Regions from separate parts of the Homo sapiens genome. Here region 2 is linked to region 1. Evidence: promoter capture Hi-C in human tissues and cell types (Jung and others, 2019). All regions are on one chromosome and are shown on one strand. Each heading gives the region's core, a stretch centred on a gene start or on the middle of the fragment in contact. The rest is flanking DNA. Distances are from core to core; before and after follow the strand shown. Region 1 holds the start of LRRC38 (leucine rich repeat containing 38). Region 2 has its middle 32 kb from the start of PDPN.

Region 1 (4,731 bases), core at 886-3,385:
TTAGTTTCAGGATGAGGAAATCAAGGCTAGGAGTGGTATTTCTCAATAGGTTTGTTACCAAGAGCCCCTCTTAATATTTTAGTACCATGCATTCCCCTGTTTTGCAAGTCCTTGTCAACTAAATACTTGCATTTATTCAGTAGAAATTCATCTCTGTTTTTCTTAAAGTCACCTATGAATGCCGGTTCTGCACAAAAGGACTAGTGCTACCATTAAGTTCACTGGCAAGAATTGCAGTATTTAATCCGGGAGACCTCCTCAAAGATAAAGGCCTAATTTTCACCAGACTTTTTTAAATTTTGAAAAGACCTCCTCTTCATAGTATCTGGGGACCCAGGCTAAGAAGTCCCCAGAGAGATCAAGTGGCTTGTGAAAGATTCTGTGGCTAGTGGTGGGGCCAGGACCAGACCCAGGGTCTTGATTCATATAGGTCAGTGCTCCAGCCAACCAGACCACTTGGCAGGGAGGGCTTGTGTACACACCCAGACATACAGACACGCGGGCATGCACGTGCAAGATGGCAGCCCAACCAAATGCGGGTGTCATGAAACCATGATGCTAAGGGCTCAAACCAGTAATAGGTTCCCCTCAGTACAGGAGGGAGCAGGCAGAACCAAGCCTGAGATTGGCAGAGTGCAACAGTTCGGTTCAGGCTGCTTTTGCAGAGTTGCAAGGGTGGGAGATGTGTTTATTCTGCCACCTGCCTGCACTTTGTGTGACTCTTCAATAATTTATACATCATTTATGTAGGCAGAAGCATTTTCATCCACTCTGGGAGCATTCAGACCACTCCTCCCGACACCTGCCTCTTCAAGAGCATGAGACTGGGGTGGGGAAGCTGAGCCCTTGAAGTTGGGGATGGCAATGGCAAATTGGGCACCCTGGGAGAGTGGAGACAGAGACGGAGAACTGAGGGAGGTCTGGCTTAGTGGCCTGGAATGTAAGTAGGGGAAAAGCTGCAGGACTCCAGGTGCCTCAAAGCTTCCCCCTGGGTCTCCCCCGCCTCTTCCCCAGGGCTCCTGCAAATATGCTCATCTGTTGAGCCCTTGGCTCCATCCCAGGGGATCAGTTTTTTCATCCCATGGCTCAGAGGCATCAAGTCGGCCTGTACCTTTGGAAGAAGGCCGAGGGCTTAGCTTTATGGCTTCAGAATCCGAGGCTCCACCAATCCCCAGCATGGCCAGGGGCCAGGGAAGGGTCTCTGGGAGCCTGCTGCCCAACAGCTGTTCCCTGGGTTATTTTGGTCTAGTGGGAGTCTGTCAATTCTAGGGCATTTGGACCAAAATAGCCAACAGCGGGACAATCTCTTGGTAGCTCTGTGGGGACCCCTCCCCATATAGAAGTTTCTAGAATGAGGTGGGACAGAAAGAAAGGAGTTTGGCATCGGGGTGGTGAAGAGGGAATTTTCCTGCCAGTGTCAGAGGCTGACATCAGCATTTCCTCACTGTCCTTTCATCTCAGCCTTGGCACGTTCCTGACTGCCTCCCTAGGCTATCCAAGGTGGGGTTTTGAGGGGGAGAGAGGAAAAGATAATTTTTGAACTTTGTTCTTGACTTCTTGGTCCTCCCCCAAAGCTGATGAGATATATATTACCTTTTTCCATTTCACAAATGGAGCTACCAGGTCCACAGAGGCAGAGGTACTGGTCTGAGGCCACACAGCTTGGAAGCCAGGCCTGGTGACTCCAGGCCTCAGAGCCTCAGCAGCTGGACCTCTCAGACCAGCAGCTGATCCTTGCATGGATGCCAGTTCCATCCAGAAGTTCGGGGCCGGCATGGAAAGTGCTGACTGGCCCTGCAGGCCACAGCGGGGGCCCTGGCAGCCACTTGCCTCGCTCACCCTCCAGCCTAAGATGGTTCAAGTGCAGGTGGGGGAGGGAAGAGGGAAGACCAGTCACTCACTCTCTCCCCTTGGAACCCCGCCCAAATTCAGACCAGCAGACCCTGGCGCGGCACCCGAGAACCTGCAGGGATTGCCCCCGGAGCAGAGTCAGAGTGACCCAGGTCCCACTCCCTTTGGCGACATAGGGTGGCGTGCAGGGAGCGTGCTTTGGCACCAGGCGGGCGCGAGGGGGCAGGGCGCACGCCCGGGACACGCCTTAGGGAAACCGCTCCTGGGCTTGGTAGCTGAACTTAGACGTCGAGTGCAGCCCGCCCGGTGCGCGCGGCGTCTTACTGCCAGATCTCGGAAATCAGCTGCCAGGGTGGGGCCGCGTTTTGGCGACGGCCACTCGGCCACCCCTGCCGCTCCCGCCTCTCCCAAGAGATTTTTCTAGCGGGTTAATTTCCTGTCCGGGTAAACCCTTTGGTGAGTCCCTCGCCCCTCCCTCCCCGCCCCTCCCCTCTCCATCCCTGCTGTCCCGGCTCCCCAGTCCGTCCGCGCCGCGCTCCATCGCCCCCGCACGCCCGGGCGCACGCCCTCCCCGCCCGGGCCGCCCTCTGGCTCCCCGCGCCCGGCAGCCAGTGCCTCACCGCGCCGTCCCGCGCCAGGGCTCGCTCCGAGAGCCGCTTCCTTCTCGCCGCGGCCGGCGCGGGCCCCCCGGCCATGCGCCCCCGAGCCCCAGCCTGCGCCGCCGCGGCGCTCGGGCTCTGCAGCCTTCTGCTGCTGCTCGCGCCCGGGCACGCGTGCCCCGCGGGCTGCGCCTGCACCGACCCGCACACCGTGGACTGCCGCGACCGCGGGCTGCCCAGCGTGCCAGACCCTTTCCCCCTGGACGTGCGCAAGCTGCTGGTGGCCGGCAACCGCATCCAGCGGATCCCCGAGGACTTCTTCATCTTCTACGGCGACCTGGTCTACCTGGACTTCAGGAACAACTCGCTGCGCTCGCTGGAGGAGGGCACGTTCAGCGGCTCGGCCAAGCTCGTGTTCCTCGACCTCAGCTACAACAACTTGACCCAGCTGGGCGCCGGCGCCTTCCGCTCGGCCGGGAGGCTGGTGAAGCTTAGCCTGGCTAACAACAACCTGGTGGGCGTGCACGAGGACGCCTTCGAGACCCTGGAGTCGCTGCAGGTGCTGGAGCTCAACGACAACAACCTGCGCAGCCTCAGCGTGGCCGCCCTGGCCGCGCTGCCCGCGCTGCGCTCCCTGCGTCTGGACGGGAACCCCTGGCTGTGCGACTGTGACTTCGCCCACCTCTTCTCCTGGATCCAGGAGAACGCATCCAAACTGCCCAAAGGTGAGCCGAGCCGGCTAGGCTGGGGGAGGGAGGGAGGGGGGCAGGGAGAGGCCACCCCAGACCCCAGTCTGGGTGGGAGGAGCCGTGGGTTGAGTTTGGAAGAGGAGGCTTGGGGGATCCTGAACTTTTCCTGGGTCTCTGCTGGGGAAGTGGGTGGAGAGGGACGCATCTGGAATTCTTTGGAGTTTCTGAACCCTGAGGCTGTACTTCTTCCCCTGTTTCTCCAGTAACTCACTTTACCAAGTTAGGGACCTTCCCCTTCTCGGGATGCCCAGGATCATCTCCCTGGGCTTTGGGTCCTAGGACTGGCGGGTGTGGATTACTTATGCGTCCCTGGTAAGCGGAATGCAGCCTACTCTATGGGAAACGGCCGTATTCTCAGTACCGTGCACGGGGAGTCAGCCAGTTCCAAGGGCTCTCCAGCAGCTTCCCGAGCCTAACCTGGCCTCTCAGCTTCTCAGCTCCAGTTTGCTCTTCTGTCTAATATGGGTGAGGAAGATTTCTGATGTGGAATAATGGCAGCCCATTAAGAGCCAATGATGCAGTAATGATTTGTAGTTCTCTGTGGCTTTTCAGCCAGATGTGAAAAAGCTGAACCAAAATGTAGAGGGCTGGTGCCCCCTTTGCTTTCCTGGTGCACGCTTCCAATGGCGGCGTGGGCATAAAAACTCACTTGGCAGATGGGAACACCAGGGCGGAGGGAGTTAAGGGGCTCCATTAAGGCCCGCAGGAAGGGAGCACGGGTGGAGCTGAGAAGGAGGGGACCCCAGCATCCACAGGGATGAGCACCCAGAGTGAGGAGGCAGGTGGCAGGTGGGTGTCCTTCCCCCAAGTGGATTCCAGCCTCCCACTTGTGACCCTGTGAGCACCAGTGCCCGCAGTGACCTCTCAGAGCTGAACTCTGCCTCCTGCCTTGCTCCCAAGATTTCAGCAGAATTGGGACCACAGCTGCAAGGCGCACATCATCAAAGGTGACATACATGCAGATTTAGCTTCAGAATATTTTTTTTTCCATTTACGGAGAAATCAAGGATGCTGTTCATCTGTGTGCTGAACTCCTGCATTCATATCTTCATTCCCAACTGTCATCAAACACACCCCATGCTTCGGGGTGCTCACTCTTCAGCAAATGCAGGCCCCTGAGCCATCACTTTCAGCCCAGGCTGGCTGAAATTCCTAAAACGATCTGGCCTGCAGGGTGCAGAGTCCCCACCTTTAAACTTTGTCCTCATCCACTTGTCTGGTTTCCCAGACCCTGCCCACCAGTAGACTCGGTCCTGGAGACAGGAGTGACCGGATGAAAAGCTCATGGTGGGATGGGGTACACCTCGGTTCTGCTTGCTTCTGCCTTTCCTTTTCAGTGGGGTTGGCACCATTCACCCCTGTTGTTGGTTGGGTTGGTTTATTGGCTCCAGTTGTCTTCCAGGTGAAGGCAAGGTTTTATGAAGTCAGGAGCTGTGGGTTTGTCTCAGTTCTGCCATGGTGACTGTGACCTTGAACAGGCCACTTGTCCCATTTGGGCCTCAGTTTCCTCATCTCTAGAATTCTTGCGTTGA
Region 2 (4,731 bases), core at 1,297-3,796, 38 kb before region 1:
TTAAGGGCATTAATTGCAGATTTTCAGATTCTGTTGGGTGCATTTAAAAGAGTAATGTAATCATTTATTTTAAAAGGTCAACATTTACACTATGCTGGGTGTAAAATTGTATCTTGTGCAACTATTTGAACTTGTGCTGAGGAATTTTTTTTTTTTTTTGAGACAGAGTCTTGCTCTCTCGCCTAGCCTGGAGTGCAATGGCGCCATCTTGGCTCACTGCAACCTCTGCCTCCCGGGTTCAAGCTATTCTCCTGCCTCAGCCTCCCTAGTAGCTGGGTCTACAGGGGCCTGCCATCACGCCCGGCTAATTTTTTTTGTATTTTTAGTAGAGACAGGGTTTCACCATATTGGCAGGCTGGTCTCCAACTCCTGACCTTGTGATTCGCCTGCCTTGGCCTCCCAAAGTGCTGGGATTACAGGCATGAGCCACCGTGCCTGGCCGTGCTGAGGAATTTTAAATCTAAGTTTTAAAGTGTGCAGAGAGGGTACATCATTTTTCAAGATTATTTTTAAATATATGTAAGCAGAATAAAAATGTGAAGCCCACTGGGGTAGAGAATGACTGTGACATAGTTTCATATATATTAATTTTCCTACAATACTTATGAATTAGTTACCACAGCCAAATCCTGCCATAATCCTATAAATGAAGTCCAAAATATCCAATCGTTTAAGATACTAGGTAGCACTATTTGAAGTTGACAGAATGGAAACAGGAGCAGGGGGAATAATGGTAGCCAACTTCCAATCGGATTTTACTGGGTTAATATTCCTTTCTCCATAGAGAAAACTGAGGCATGTATGGAGATGTTGCTACCTTCCCAAGGCCGTGGAGGAGCCAGGATTTGGTTCCGGAGTCTGTGCTCTTAATTCCTGCACTATGCAGACCTAGAGGGTGTAAAATAGTACAGTTCATTTGGGTGCTAAATGCAAATTAGTACAACTACTAGTGAGATTGGTTATCGTTCCATATGTTTATCCACCATATGCATTTTCTCATTGAAAGGTCTGCTCATATCTTTTGTCCGTTTTGTTCCTAGACTGTCTTTTTATTATTGATTTGTCAAAGTTAATACATGTCTATATCCTTTATATGCTGCCACTTATTCGTGGTTATGTGTATGCAAATATACCCCCAATTTATGACTTGTTTTTCAGTTTCTTTATGGTATCTTTTGATGAACAGAAATGGTTAATTTTAATGTAACTCAATGTGCCAAGTTTTTCTTTTAAGTCGTGTAAAAAACTCTTACCTTATCTCTAGGTCACAAAAATATTCTTTCATATTTTATTATGAAGTTTTAAACTTTTATGTCCTACTTTTAAGTTGTTAATCCACTCGAAATTGATTTTGTATGTGGTGTCAGGTAAGGGTTCAATCACCCCCATCCCCACCCCAGGTGGCTAACCATTTATCTCAAGATTAGTTTCATAGTACATCTTTTACTCATGGAACTGATATAGCTCCCCTTCATGTATAAGGTTTGCAAATAATTGGGGGTCTAGCCTGTTGCATTGATTATAATTTTTTTTTTTTGAGACGGCTTCTCGCTCTGTTGCCCAGGCTGGAGTGCAGTGGCGCTATTTCGGCTCACTGCAAGCTCCGCCTCCCGGGTTCATGCCATTCTCCTGCCTCAGCCTCCCGAGTAGCTGGGACTACATGTGGGCCTGCCACCACGCCCGGATAATTTTTTTTTTTTTGTATTTTTAGTAGAGACGGGGTTTCACCGTGTTAGCCAGAATGGTCTCGGTCTCCTGACCTGGTGATCCGCCTGCCTCGGCCTTCCAAAGTGCTGGGATTACAGGCGTGAGCCGCCGCGCCCAGCGCATTGATTATTATGTCTGTAACTGCATCAATATCATACTGTTTTACTTACCATAACTTCATCATAAGTCTTGATGTGAGATTAGGCAAAAATAATATTTCCATTTGTTGCCTGTGTATAAAAGTACAATTGATGTTTGTATATTGATTTTTTTTTTCCCCGAGACACAGCCTTGCTCTGTCACCCAGGCTGGAGTACAATGGCGTGATCTCAGCTTACCGCAACCTCTGTCTCCTGAGTTCAAGCAATTCTCCTGCCTCAGCCTCCCGAGTAGCTGAGATTACAGGCACATGCCACTACACCCAGCTATTTTGTTTTGTATTTTTAGTAGAGACAGGGTTTCACCATGTTGGCCAGGCTGGTCTTGAACTCCTGACCTCGTGATCTGCCTGCCTTAGCTCTTATTTGCAGCCACTTTGCTAAACTCTTTTTTTTTTTTTTTTTGGAGGCAGGGTCTCGCTTTGTCACCCAGGCTGGAGTACAGTGGCACAGTCTCGGCTCCCTGCAACCTCAACTTCCCAGGCTAGGACTACAAGAGTGTGCCACCATGCTCAGAAACTTTTTTTTTTTTTTCCCTAGAGATGAAGGTCTCACTATGTTGCCCAAGGTGGTCTGGAACGCCTGGCTTCAAGTGATACTCCCACCTCTGCTTCCCAAAGTGTTGGGATTACAGATGTGGCCTACTGCACCCGACCAATTTTCCTTTTTAGTATTATTCTTGCTTGGCATTAATATAAAAGTTTTATTCACCTTATAGAATAAATTGGGGAATGTTTCCTCCAATTCCTCTGTTCTTTGAAAGTTTGTTAAAATTCCCTTGTGAATATCCCTGGGATTGGTATATGCACTTTTAGTCAAATTTTAACTATTAATTCAACCTTCAATTTCCTTAATGTTTATATGATGGTTCAAATTTTCTATTTCCCCTTTAGTCAGTTTTGGTAAATGACATTTTCTATTATCTTGCCTATTTCATCTATATTTTCCAATGTATTACCATAATGTTTATAGTATATGCTTATCTTTTTGTCTCAGCTAATGCCAGATCTTGTTTATTTGGGCAATGTCTTTTTTTTTTTCTCTTGATTCTTCTTGCCAGAGGTTTTTAAATTGTTATCATCAGAAGAACCAACACTTGATTTTGTCAAAGAACCAACATTTGGCTTTGTTGATACTAATTGCCAGGCACTATTCTGAGTGTTTACATATATTAACTAATTTAATGTGGTGTGTATAATGCTTTCTCATTGGAATTTCCTTATCTTTCATATTTTCCATCTGCTTGTCTCTGTTTTGCCTTCTGGATAATTTCTTCAGATCTATCTCTTAGTTTACTCATCTTTCTCTTATTTGATGCTTAACAAATATATTGAGTTTCAATGATTATAGTTTTCGATTCTAAAATTTCTATGTGGTTTCTTTCCAATCTGCCTGATCAATTTTTATGGTCTCTTGGTCTTTGTTCAGTTTTTAGTTACATATTTTTTTCTGTAAACACTTCATACTTTATATTTTGTATCTGACAGTTCCAGCATCAGAAATTTATATGACTCTAAATCTGTATTTAGTTAATTCTGTTGATCTCACTCAGCGAAGCTTGTTTCCTGGCAAGTTTGGTAATGTTTTTTATTGTGAAATTTTTATTGTGTGTGTGTTTTTTTTATTGGTTGAACATAATCTGTAGGGATCCTGGGAGCATTTATTGGTGATGCTTTATTCCGGAGAGAATTTGTGTTTGCTTTTCTCAAGAGCCAGAGGCTGTTACCACACTGGATACATTTAAGCTCCCTTGAAAGAATCAGGGCTTAAGGCAAGAGTCTCAGATTTAGCTTCCCTATCTCACAGAGAGCTCAAGGCTTAGTGTGCGGATTCCAGGGCTGGTACTCACACTGTCTCCTCCGGTTACATTTGCTGACTGTTCCCAATCTACTGTCAATTTAGTATTCTCCTCCCATCTCCCCACCAACCTTAGAGAGCCTTTATTTTCATACAAGCCTAGCAGCGCATAAAACTATGTTTATTGTAATTTTCCTGAGACCTAGTTATATTACAGAGGAGGAGCCTTCAGAGGAACTGATATGCCGTACTTCTCGAAGAGGAATTCAGTTCATTTTTAATCTTTGAATCATATCAAGGAGAAAGTCTGAATCATGTGTTCTTATGTGAATTATGTGTTGTGTCTTAAACACCTCTTCAACACCTGTTAAGGGATACTGCACCAGCAACAGTATCCAGCTAGAATTTAATACAATTGTTTTGTTTGCATTATCTTTATCCTATGGTTACATTATATTATGGGAAGTGATACTGGTTTTCCATTGACTATAGAGATATGAAGTTTCTTTAAAGAGGAATTTATATATATATATGTATAAACTAATTTAATGCCTGGTCCATTTATATATGTATATATATACACATATGTGTGTATATATACGTATACATATATGTATACGTGTATATATATGTATATGTATATACATATATAAATGGGCTAGGCATGTTGGCTCACACCTGTAATCCCAGCACTTCAGGAGGCCAAGGTAGGTAGATAGCTTGAGCCCAGGAGTTTGAGCCCAGCTTGGGCAACATAGCAAAACCTTATCTCTACAAAAAATACAAAAATTAACTGGATGTGGTGGTGTGTGCCTGTGGTCCCAGCTACTCTGAAGGCTAAGGTGGGAGGATCGCTTGAGCTCAGGAGTCAGAGACTGCAGTGAACGGAGATCGTGCTGCTGCACTCCAGCCTGGGTGCCAGAGTGAGACTCTGCCTCAAAAAAAAAAAAAAATTCAATTTAGATAAATTGTTAAATAAACAGTAGTACAGGTTGTCATCAACTATTGCAAAAGTCATATGAGAATGAGGGCTGGGAAACACTGGTCTGCATCTTCCCAATTCCTCAGG

The links. Contacts are between HindIII fragments. The study calls those that stand out against the background at their distance.
Region 2: a contact is called between a fragment that was not itself captured here and the fragment with the promoter of LRRC38 in region 1, in 1 of the 25 tissues and cell types used here (spleen).

The regions. Positions count from the first base shown.
Region 1 is chr1:13,511,407-13,516,137 of GRCh38, reverse strand. It overlaps LRRC38 (leucine rich repeat containing 38), which reads left to right and starts at 2,135. Exons shown (of 2, transcript NM_001010847.2): 1 at 2,135-3,175. The coding sequence starts at 2,545. LOC107984918 (a long non-coding RNA gene) reads right to left here and starts at 2,918. Exons shown (of 3, transcript XR_001737896.2): 1 at 2,797-2,918; 2 at 1,594-1,847. The HindIII fragment of the contact is 3,544 bases long and covers 345-3,888 here.
Region 2 is chr1:13,549,772-13,554,502 of GRCh38, reverse strand. No RefSeq gene overlaps it. Among named protein-coding and RNA genes, the nearest start is that of PDPN, 32 kb to the left of the region's middle. The HindIII fragment of the contact is 3,082 bases long and covers 1,006-4,087 here.